Regions from separate parts of the Homo sapiens genome. Here regions 1, 3 and 4 are each linked to region 2. The links are contacts of gene promoters, found by promoter capture Hi-C in blood cells and fetal thymus (Javierre and others, 2016). All regions are on one chromosome and are shown on one strand. Each heading gives the region's core, a stretch centred on a gene start or on the middle of the fragment in contact. The rest is flanking DNA. Distances are from core to core; before and after follow the strand shown.

Evidence for each region. Contacts are between HindIII fragments. The CHiCAGO score rates a contact against its expected background, and 5 or more counts as called.
Region 1: a contact is called between the fragment with the promoter of SAP130 here and the fragment with the promoter of FAM168B in region 2, in 1 of 17 cell types (monocytes). The highest score is 5.4, in monocytes.
Region 3: a contact is called between a fragment that was not itself captured here and the fragment with the promoter of FAM168B in region 2, in 1 of 17 cell types (total CD4 T cells). The highest score is 8.2, in total CD4 T cells.
Region 4: a fragment that was not itself captured here is called in contact with the fragment with the promoter of FAM168B in region 2 in 1 of 17 cell types (M0 macrophages); the score reaches 5.4 in M0 macrophages.

Annotation. Positions count from the first base shown.
Region 1 is chr2:128,026,540-128,029,398 of GRCh38, reverse strand. SAP130 (Sin3A associated protein 130) reads left to right here and starts at 1,340. Exons shown (of 21, transcript NM_001330301.2): 1 at 1,340-1,459. RefSeq lists silencers at 653-802, 1,053-1,572, 1,673-2,012, 2,073-2,362. The HindIII fragment of the contact is 20,582 bases long and covers 1-2,859 here.
Region 2 is chr2:131,091,872-131,094,734 of GRCh38, reverse strand. It overlaps FAM168B (family with sequence similarity 168 member B), which reads left to right and starts at 1,275. Exons shown (of 7, transcript NM_001009993.4): 1 at 1,275-1,521. RefSeq lists a silencer at 1,102-1,821. The HindIII fragment of the contact is 2,381 bases long and covers 1-2,205 here.
Region 3 is chr2:134,194,680-134,197,379 of GRCh38, reverse strand. It overlaps a transcript of MGAT5 not described here. Among named protein-coding and RNA genes, the nearest start is that of MGAT5, 58 kb to the left of the region's middle. The HindIII fragment of the contact is 1,171 bases long and covers 721-1,891 here.
Region 4 is chr2:128,009,748-128,012,447 of GRCh38, reverse strand. SAP130 (Sin3A associated protein 130) reads left to right here. Exons shown (of 21, transcript NM_001330301.2): 7 at 2,055-2,179. Among named protein-coding and RNA genes, the nearest start is that of SAP130, 17 kb to the left of the region's middle. The HindIII fragment of the contact is 6,120 bases long and covers 1-2,700 here.

The sequences.
Region 1 (2,859 bases), core at 91-2,590, 3.1 Mb after region 2:
AAAAAACAAAAAGGATGACATTTGAAACTGTGGAAATACATTAAACCATTTAGGAAGGCAGTATAGCATTAGCGTGTTGGAGCCCTGAAGAATGCTGTATTTATGAGAAAGAGGAGGTATAATGGAGCTTGACATAGGAGTAGAAGCAGGAGACAGCCTGGTTCTAGAGGCCAAGGGAAGACATGAGGAGGAATTACTACTGGTCAGTAAGCTAAACAAGATGAGATCTAAGTGAGGACCGATGGGTTTGAAGTTGAGTAGGTGTTGGCAACTTTTGGGGAGCAGTCTGAGAAGAGTGGCAACTCCAAAAGGGATAAGGACTGCCTAGGCAGAGAGGAGGCTGAAGTCTATCACAGGAGTCACTCTTTAGAAGTTTGAGAATGAAGGCATGAAGGTGGAAAAGGAAAGTGGCTTGAAGAGGAGGAGTATCTGAGACTCATCCCTGGGCTATAGCCAGGAGCTACTCTCTTCTAACCAAGCAGTTGTCTTACACAGCTGTGCATGATAGGAAGAGGGGGGTTTGAGCCCCATTTATTTCCTAACTAATCACAAAACTCCAGGCCTAAATTACCATCTGGTAAGGGAAGAGGGAGACTTAATCTCTTATCAGACACAAATGTGGCCTCAAAAGATATGGCTAAGTCTTCTACAGGTGCATAAACTCCAACCCTGAACCCCAAGCAAAATGACAAAATAAAACTGCCCCCTTCAGCTCCTTTATAATCCGGAAAGCGCGCGCAGGTGCGCCCCGGCCGCCCAGAGCCCTGCGCCCTGCCGGCCTGCTTTCACAGAGCCGCGCCCGCGCTGCGCCTGGCGGCTCCCGCCGCGCGTAGGCTGTGCCGACCGCGGTTCCCGGTGGGGACACCGAGTCCCACTCGCGGCATAGGGAGGCGGGCACCGTCACGACACTGGCCCGGCCCGCGGATCCCTTGGCCGCCGCAGTTGGCCTCCATTACCCTTTCCCGCGCCGCGCCTCCCCGCGGGGAAAATGAAACCCAGTGCCCTCAGGTTAAGGCATAGGGTGGGATCCACTGTCTTCTCACTTAGCCAAGAGAAAAGGCAGAACCGACTTCAGACAGCAAAGGGGTGTGTTGCCCTGGCCGGGTCGCCTGCGGCCCCGCCCCGGCGCTCTCCACCTCCTTCGCGGCCCGCCCTCCTGACTCCGGCGACTACATTTCCCACAGGACGCCGCGGCTCAGAGGGGCGGGCCCGTCCGCTCTCCCGCTCACGACCACCGGCGACTGGCTGACTCGGCAGGGGGCGGGGCCTGCGCCAGCCAATAGACGGGAGGCTCGTTACGGCGGCGGAAGCAGCGGCGCTGGAGTGAGGGGTGGGGGGCAGAGTGCTAGCTCCCCGGCGGTGGCTGCGGGTCCGGAGCCTGGGGACGTCGGCCCCACAGACGGAGAGCGCGCGGGAGCGAGCTCAAGGCGGCGCGGCGGCCACTGGGCGCAGCACCCAGGTAATGGCGGGACGGGCGCCCGGGAGGGAAGGGGAGGAGACGAGGGGGCGGGGCGGCTGAGCCGGGCTGCAGCGTCCGTCCCGTTGCGCGTCCCCGGGGAAGGGCAGAGGATCCTCGTCTCCTGCGGCTCGGACCGCGGCTCTTTCGCGAGCTGGTCACGGCGGTTGGGCCGGCGACAGGGGCTGGGTGTCCTGTGGCGAGGAAGGGAGAGGCACCGGGAGGGGTGGGCTGACCCGGGCGTGGGGGCGTGGCGGACGTGGGCCTTGGCGGGGAAGCAGAGCGGCCGGGGGAGCGCGGGCGGGCGGGCGGGCGGGCGGCCGGCCCAGGGAGTTTGGCTCCTGGAGCAGTTTAAAGTGACTCTCCACATCCGGGCCCTGCGCCCGCCGCTTTCAGACCCTGGCTGAGGCGGGGCCTCCCCGCTCCCCGCCCCCTTCGCCGGGGGCGCCTGTCTTCCTCTGCCATTGGCTCAGCCTCGAGGGGTTTGGGCTGCCCCGGCCAGGCTCGCGCCTGATTGGCTGGCAGTCGGCGGGAGGGTGGGGCGGGCTCTGAACGTGCAGGTCGCTGTGGATTGGTCCTGGGCCTCCACTGACGCGTCGGGCGTGGGGCCAATGGGCGGGCGGGGGAGGCAGGGGCAGGTTCGGGGGAAGAGGACTGCGAGCACAGCGGCGGCCGGGTGGCGGGGGTGAGTGGGGCCAGCGGGGCTGGACAGCAGCGGGCCCCGGGCGCCGCCGCCGCGATCCCTCCCCGCGCCCGCCGAGCACATCGCCGCCGCCGAGATGGGCCCTCCGCGGCACCCCCAGGCCGGCGAGATAGAAGCGGGCGGTGCGGGCGGCGGGCGGCGGCTACAGGTAAAGAGGCACAGTGCTCGTCTTGTGGTCGGGTCCCCAGATCGCCCGTCCGCACCCCCACCCCGGAGACGGGGGTCTCACACTCCGAGGTGTCTGGAAACCGGCGTCCTCCGGTCTCAGCGGGGGCTTCGCGGTGGGGTGGGGTTGCGGGCGAATCGGGAGATCGCTTGGCTCCTGAGGGAAAAGTGGGGGGCGATTTTAGGGAAGATGGAGAAGGTGTAGGGTCCTCTGGCTCTGTGAGGGGATCTGTGGAAGAGAAGGAAAAGGAAATCCGTAAATGGAGGCCTTTGCCGAAAAGCATTGGAGAATTCCTTTTGCATCGGGTCTGGATGTAAGATATCGGATCTTTTCTTAGGGCTGGATATCTTCCTCCGAATGTTCCTATGACATACTAATCACAGTTCTGTTCACCTTGGTGTGAGATTTGAGTGTTTCAAAGAGACATGCCATTTTCCATAAAACTTTACACAGAGAAATACACATGCATTGTGGTAATACCTGTCATGTGACTCTTGTACAGGATTCAATGGTGATTTTTTTAGCATAGCAATC
Region 2 (2,863 bases), core at 26-2,525:
GCCCGATCTCGGCTCACTGCAACCTCCGCCTCCCGGGTTCAAGAGATTCTCCTGCCTCAGCCTCCAGAGCAGCTAAGGTTACAGATGTGCGCCACCACGCGCAGCTAATTTTTGTATTTTTAGTAGAGACGCGGTTTCACTATGTTGGCCAGGCTGGTCTTGAACTCCTGACCTCGTGATCTGCCCGCCTCGGCCTCCTATAAGTGCCGGGATTAAAGGCGTGAGACACCGCGCCCATCTGTTTTTATTTCATAAACGACTGAAAAAAGACCAGAGCCAGGCCTCCTCCCTTCCATCACTAATCTTTATTGCAATAACTCCCTCCTTTGTCGTCCTGTACCTAGCTCAGACCAGACGACACCCCAAACACAAACACCAAGACACGCACCTCTTTAATACGAAATAATAAACATACCTCCCCCAGAGAGACACCCTGAACTAACCAAATCATTGTAACTATACACTAAGCCTTACATAAAAATACTAACATTTGGCCGGGTGCGGTGGCTCACACTTGTAATCCCAGCACTTTGGGAGGCCAACGTGGGTGGATCACCTGAGGTCACGGGTTCGAGACTAGCCTGACCAACATGGTGAAACCCCCGTCTCTACTAACACAAAAATTAGCCAGGTGTGGTGGCGGGCGCCTGGAATCTCAATTACTCAGGAGGCTGAGGCAGGAGAATCGCTTGAACCCGGGAAGCGGAGGTTGCAGTGAGCCAAGATCGCGCCATTGTACTCCAGCCTGGGTGACAAGAGCGAAACTCCGTCTCAAAAAAAAACCAAAAAACCCCCTAACATTCTAGTACACTTCCCTGAACTCTTGTCTATAGAAATGATCCCGCACTTCTACACTTGAAACGCTGACTTGCATTCTCTAAAATCTGCACTCCTGAGCGGGCGCCCGCAGCCTCCGCACTGGCAAAGAATCTGTGAGCTGAGCTCCGCCCCGCTCCGACCCCGTAGTGGCGGTCACCCGGGGTGTGCTCGACTCCCGGGTGCGGCCTGAGGATCCGCGCCCTGGCGTCTGGGCACACACAAAGGTTTCTGCGGCGCGGGACTATCTCAAAATATAAATTAAATACTTTTTTCACAGACAGTTAATAAAAAAACTACAGCTACACCCGGCCCTTTCGCCAACTGGGACCGGCCCACTCCGCGCTCGCGCTCGCGCTCGTCCATCCGGGCGTCTCGAGGGCGCCGGCGGGAGCGAGCACGCTGCGCAGTCACGTGCCCGGCGCGCCCCCGTCGCGGCGCGCTCAGGCGGAAGTGAGGTCGGCGGCTCCGGTGGCTGCGCAGCGTCGGCGGGGAGCGCGGGCTGCGGAGAGGCGGGCCGGGCCAAGCGGAGCCGAGCGAGCGGGAGCGCGGCGTCCGGGAGGCGGCGGAGACGCGGGGCTCGGAGGGTCAGCCTCTTATCGTAGCAGGTCTCCTCGGCACGCCCCCCTTGTTTCGCCCCACGGCCAAGCCCGCCGCGGGCCGGCGTGCGCTGGTCACTGAGGCCCAGGTCGCCGCCGCGGCGCGGTGAGTGGGGGCGGGCAGCGGGCGACTGCGCGTCCAGGCCGGAAGTGCGGCGCTTTGTGCGGCCGGCTCGGGGCGGCGCCAAGGTCGGCCCGCGGCTCGGGGTCGCTGGGCGTCTGGACCGGCCTGGGCTGCGCTTTGTGCCGCGGGCAAGGCCGGGCGGGGGCCGGGGGCGGAGCTCGGCCGGACACGTACGCGTGCAGGTGCGGTCCGGGCGGCGCGGGCCTGCCGCCTAGGTGGCCGAGGTGGCTTCGCGGCGCGGGGCGTTCTCCTAAAGGTCGGGGTCACAGCCGTCAGGAATGCGAGCGTGAAACCCGGGGGCAGAGCTTTGTGACAATAGTCATTTCCAATGTGTAACTGCTCACTTTGTCTACCCACGAAGTAAAGATAATTTTTATTTTTATTTTTTTGCTTGGCGGAATCTGAGCGTTCTCCTTCCAGCTTGAAAAGGCACGATTTAAATTACAGATTTTTAAGATTTCCTTCAGAAAGGACGTTTCGTGGCCTAGCCTGGGTTAACTTTGAAAAAAGAGTGCAGTGCGCCTTTACGACGTCCACAAATAAGGGTATTTCTGTTTTATAGTGTATGTGAACATGAAGTGTGCATCTCATGGGCTGTTTGAGTTAATGTTTAATCATTAAAGTCAAACAAGAATATTTTGCAGTGTTTTCGCATGCAAGGAAGCTTTATAAATAAAAAGGTTTATATAGTTTCCACTCCTTAAACTTTCAGGTCATCCTTGTGTAATTTGAGATCACTTTTCTCAAATACTATGGATGAAAGATTCTAGATTAAATAAAACTTTTTGGTTTTGGCAAAAACAGGACACATTTTTAAGCTCTTGTAGATGAAGGAGTGGGTTATTTTTGCTTTGACAGCCAAGATTTGAGCAGTGTAAGGCTATTCTAATTTTGAAGCTAGTGTTGCAGAAATTGTGAAGATCTTGCTTCTCTTTGTCTTTACAAAGCAGGCTTACTTTGGTGGAGTTCCGTAGTTTAAAGGGAAATTATACCCAAGTTGTCTTAGACAGTTTCTTTTCCTGGATCAATTGAGCACTTTTTTTTTTTTTTTTGAGACGGAGTCTCCCTCTGTTTCCCAGACTGGAGTGCAGTGGCGCCATCTCGGCTCACTGCAAGCTCCGCCTCCCGGATTCACGTCAGTCTTTTGCCTCAGCCTCCCAAGTAGCTGGGACTGCAGGCGCCCGCCACCACGCCTGGCTAATTTTTTTGTATTTGTTTTTTTTTTTTTTTAGTAGAGACGAGGTTTCACCGTGTTAGCCAGGATGGTCCCAATCTCCTGACCTCGTGATCCGCCCGCCTCGACCTTCCAAAGTGCTGGGATTAC
Region 3 (2,700 bases), core at 57-2,556, 3.1 Mb before region 2:
CTCTCTCATATAAATTACTCAATTTCTGGAACAGGTCTAGCATCACCTCGTAATGCTAATGCTGTTTCTCCTGCCTAGAAGGCCCTTCCTGAGCTAGAAAATTCCACAACATCACGGTCAAGTTCAAACGTAAAAATGTTCCAACTCCTAAGGGCTTGGAAGACTTTGAAATATTGACTGAAGTATATTGGGGCATACATACCTGCCAACCCACCAATCTGCAGAGTTCCTAAAGGCAGAAGCAGTTTTTCATCTTTGTATCCCTGACCACCCCCCATACCATCCACCACATACATCCCAGTACCTGGCACAGTAAAAACTCAATAAATATTTGATGAACTAATTAAGAAATCATTGAACTGTGTTAAGGTTGTCCTTAAGAGTATTTTTTAAAGTAGTTGAAAATTCAAAGGCAGAGGCCACAACTTTAGGAAATCCCCTTGTAAATCAAACACACATATTCCTGTTAAACTAGTACAACTTAGCCTATTAAAATATGAGATAGGAGACATAGCCTTTAAACTAGGGGCAGCCAATGTTTTGGCTTCACCAAAGGGCCGCACTAGAAGAACTGTCTTGGGCCACACATAAAATACACTAACAGTAAGGAAACCTGATGAGCTAAAAAAAAATTCCATTTTTTAAGAAACTTTACAAATTTGTGTTGGGCCGCATTCAAAGCCGTCCTGGGCCACAGGTGGCCCGCAGTCTGGACAAGCTTGCTCTAAACTATAAAAGCGGAGCTAAAGATCCATGTCACTTACAAGCATCGACTATCATTAGGAGTTGAACCTTATGGGAAAACAATTTTGCACTTAACAGCAACCATTTGCTAGCTCATTAACAAATCTGGGCTGTCATATTTTTAAATGATCACTTTGCTTTGAAAATGAATCCTACATTAAATAGAAAACAAAACACGTATTTTAAAGAGTGTTTTAAAAAGCTCCCTTGGATCCATAGTTTTTTTTTTTTTTAAGCCTTAAGATCTGAAAGAAAAGGCCATATACCACACATTCAGACCCTCCATACTGGTACTTGAGTACCAGAAGCAACGGCCTAAAATCGTTTCAAAGAAAGGGGAAAAATATACTTTCAAACACCAACAATAGGTAAATTCCCAAGCACAGGCATATCCAAACCAATTAATTCTATGCTCCACAAAAATTTCCACTTCTGCTAACTTGTTTACAGCTTGGCATAGAGACTAAATGTCTAACTAATGGTTAAGAAACAACAGAGGCAATGAGCAAATTCAACTTCCGAAGAGCACCATGTCCAGAGTGCTACAGAGGAGCCTCCAGGGAACTACACCTTGAATAATATGTTGGGGAAAAAGTTGCTTTTAGTTTCATGAGGATCATCCTGACTTTTTACCCTGGAATTTTTGGAATGGGGTTTTCTAGACCATTTGTTCTAGACACTCAGATATATTAAGTGACTTGCTGGAGATCACAAGCCAGTTATAGGCACTGCAAAGCCTAGACCCCTCTGGTCTTCCAGTACATTCTCCAGCACAGCACACAGAATAAAGTCCATTTCTTAATACAATTGTCACAAATAAAATCCACTACGGAAAATAAGATTACCCAGCCATTAAGAAGTTTTTCCAAGTTCTTCCTAAAACACAGGCTCACGCACACCAGACATCAAACACAGAAAAGATTATAGACGTTAAAAAGGCGCTAGGTGAACTTTACAATGAGATTCACTTAATGCAGTAGGTACTAGGAATTAAAAAATGAGTAAGGCCAAAGGACACTCATCCACAAGTAGCCTAGTGAAGCAAACGGAAACCTACGTACATAAATTATGAAACCACCTGCTGCAGCCGATATGGGAGATAAAAACAGGGTATTATGGGATATTTCAGACTCCAGAATTTAAAGCTTTAGATCTTTCTTATCATTTCTAGGATAATTCTAGGAAAGTATACTCCAACTTAAGCAGATAAAAACATAAGAATTGTTCAACAGAATGCCTAGACTAAAACTGAAAGGCGATTTCAGAACTTTTGAGAAGATAAATCCTTGTCTAGAAACAGAAAATTCACACTTGAATCTTTTTTCTGAGTTAAAAATGTAAAGGAGTATTAAATTTGTTTATGACTAATAAGGTTTGAAGTCTAACACAGTACCTGCTAATTCAGATTCAAGTCACCCTCTTAGGTGGGTGAGAAATGAGCCATTGGTTTAGGAACCTGAAGGAATCCAAACTGTTCACAGGAATATTCCAAATGGTGTTTCAGTCCTGGAGGTTAACAACCTCCACTATGCATTATATGGATGCCGACTGTGTTCTGGGGGATATTTGAGATCAGAGGCCATAAAAATAAAATAGGTATGTGACTTTCACAGCCAGTCACAAATAAAATGCTGCTGGACCTTTTAAGTCTGAACAATCCACTCAGACTACAGAGAAAAGACTAGATATTAGTAAAAGAGCACCCAACTTCAACTGCATTATCAGCTTCCAGAAGTGAGGTTCTTACAGCAACATGAACCACCTGAACCACAAAATACCAAATATCAAGAAGGGGCGCAAATGCTCATGGAAGATATTCCACCAGGGCCTTGAACAGTACATGAAGTGAGGGCAGATTTGGAGAACACTCCTGTCTCTCCAAAGTCCTGGTGAAGGGGGCATTATTTCACAATCTGGTTCAATGACAGAAGCAAGACAGTACTCTCTATATCTACC
Region 4 (2,700 bases), core at 188-2,687, 3.1 Mb after region 2:
CCCAGGCTGAAGTGCAGTGGTGCGATCCCAGCTCACTGCAACCTCTGCTTCCTGGGTTCAAGCGATTCTCCTGCCTCAGCCTTCCAAGTACTTGGGACTACAGGTGTGCACCACCATGCCCGGCTAATTTTTATACTTTTAGTAGAGACAGGATTTCACCCTGTTGGCCAGGCTGGTCTCGAACTCCTGACCTCAAGTGATCTGCCTGCCTCGGCCTCCTGAAGTGCTAGGATTACAGGCGTGAGCTACTGTGCCCGGCCAAAAATCATTTTTGTCTTTTTAACACAATGGCTCTGTGTATCATTAAAGTAATACTGTTGAAAGATGAGATTAGGCCAGGCGCAGTGGCTCACACCTGTAATTCCCAGCATTTTGGGAGGCCAAGGCGGGCGGATTGTCTGAGATCAGGAGTTTGAAACCGCCTTGGGCAACATGGTGAAACCCTGTCTCTACTAAAATGCCAAAAAATTAGCTGGGCATGGTGGTGCGTGCCTGTAATCCCAGCTACCTGGGAGGCTGAGGTGGGAGAATCACTTGAGTCCGAGAGGCAGAGGTTGCAGTGAGCCAAGATCGTGCCACTGCACTCTAGCTGGGACGAGAGAGTGAGACTCCATCTCACAAAAAATAAGAAAGATAAGATTAATCTAGCTGAATCACATACAGGAGGTCTGTCCCCTTAAGCACTTTCAGGGGACAGACAGATGTATGAAACAACTGGGTTTAAGATAATAAGGAAGTCTTGATTATGATACTGGGTAGTATCTGTCTAGCCTACAGCTTTCAAGATAAATACTTTTCTGGCCAAGAAAACAGAGTCGGAGGAGTATTAGGCCTCTAGTAGTATATGTGATACATATGAAGGGTTGGAGGAAGACGAGAACCAAGACAAGGAGCTCCCGAGTGAGGAAGCTGGTGCTGTAGCCCTAGTGTGAGACACGCACCTGCACATGGTAGAAGCGGCAGGTAAAAGGGCTGTAGATGAAAAGCAAGGATGAGGAATGGGCAGAGCTCGGCCATTTAGATGCATGTTTCAGGGTTAAGAGCAAGGGAAGAATCAGAACTCAGGTGATTCGAAGAATAATGGTGGGTATGTGGATGAAGCCCAGTGTGGAGCTTATTTTTTAGAGGAAGATTTCACACGTAAGTGTGATAAGGGCACTCTGTCCATGTGAAAACATCCAGAAAGGATATGGGCACCCTGAACGATTACCTAGAAAAGAATACTGTTACCTTGAGTTGCCCTTGTACTCACTAACGTAGATGGCCTGAGAGCCAACAGCTCTATTCAGCAGCTGAGTAGGCCCTCTGTGGAGGTGCTGGGTTGGATGGCAGCGTAAAATGTCTACACCAGGACCAACAACAGACCTGTGGCAACTCTAGATTGAAGGGTGAGATCCCATTGGTACCAATAGTAGGGCAGAATTTTGACTCCAATCACATTTGTACAGGAGGGACTCATGTACTGTTCAATCAAAATGGGATTTTTTTTTTTTTTTCAAAACACTTGTCAGTGGTATCTTAAGGGATTTTTTTTTTTTAATAATTCTGACTCTTAGTCTTTTTTTTTTTTCTTTTCTATTTTTTCAAGACAGTTTCTCTCTTGTTGCTCAAGCTGGAGCGCAATGGTGCGGTCTTGGCTCACTGCAACCTCTGCCTCCCAGGTTCAAGCGATTCTCCTGCCTCAACCTCCTGAGTAGCTGGGATTACAGGCGCGTGCCACCACACCCGGCTAATTTTTTTTGTATTTTTAGTCAAGACAGGGTTTTACTGTGTTAGCCAGGCTGGTCTTTTAACTCCTGATCTCAGTTGATCTGCCCACCTCAGCCTCCCAAAGTGCTGGGAATTACAGGCGTGAGCCACCGTGCCCGGCCTGGCTCTTGGTCTTATAACAACCTATCTGAAAAGAGAATTCCTTAATTGGAATGGTGAGAATTTATTTTTACTTGGGCAGAAACATGCTTATCTGTAGGCTCAAGTTTCAAATTACACATTTAGTATTTGACTTCCTCTATTTTATTTTTGTTTTAAATGAACTGTTTTTTCTCTTTTGGTAGTCTCGGCCACCTGTGACCACCTCCAATGCCATCCCTCCTGCTGTGGTAGCAACTGTCTCAGCCACCAGAGCTCAGTCTCCAGTCATCACTACGACAGCGGCGCATGCTACTGATTCAGCACTTAGGTATACATGGGGAGTATGAAGTTTGAACCTTCCTGCCATCCTCCTCCTTCACTCTTTTTTCTTTCGTTCCTTCATTTAAGTAAATATTTATTGAGTGGCTTTTTTTTTTTATAATGAGCTATGTAGTGTTCTAAATCCTGGGGCTAAAGCTGTGAACAAAGAAATTGCTGCCCACACAGAGCTTCTGTTTTTACAGGCTGGAGACGCGATAAATATGTAGCTTTTTAGATGGTGAAAAGTGCTTTGGAAAAAAATAAGGGTAAAAGGGATTGGGAGTGACAGGGTGGGTGGTGCAGGGGACTTACAGTTTCATGTAATGTGGTCGGAGAGGGCTTTGTTGATAAGAATACATTTCAGTAGAAAATGAAAAGATATAATGAAGTGAGTGAGCTATATGGTTATCGGAGAGAAGAGTATTCTAGGCAGTGGGAACAGTGAGCGCAAAGGCTCTGAGACAGGATTGTGTTTGCCACTTATAAGGACCACCAGTGAGGCCAAGGTGGCAAGAGTTAGATTTGGGG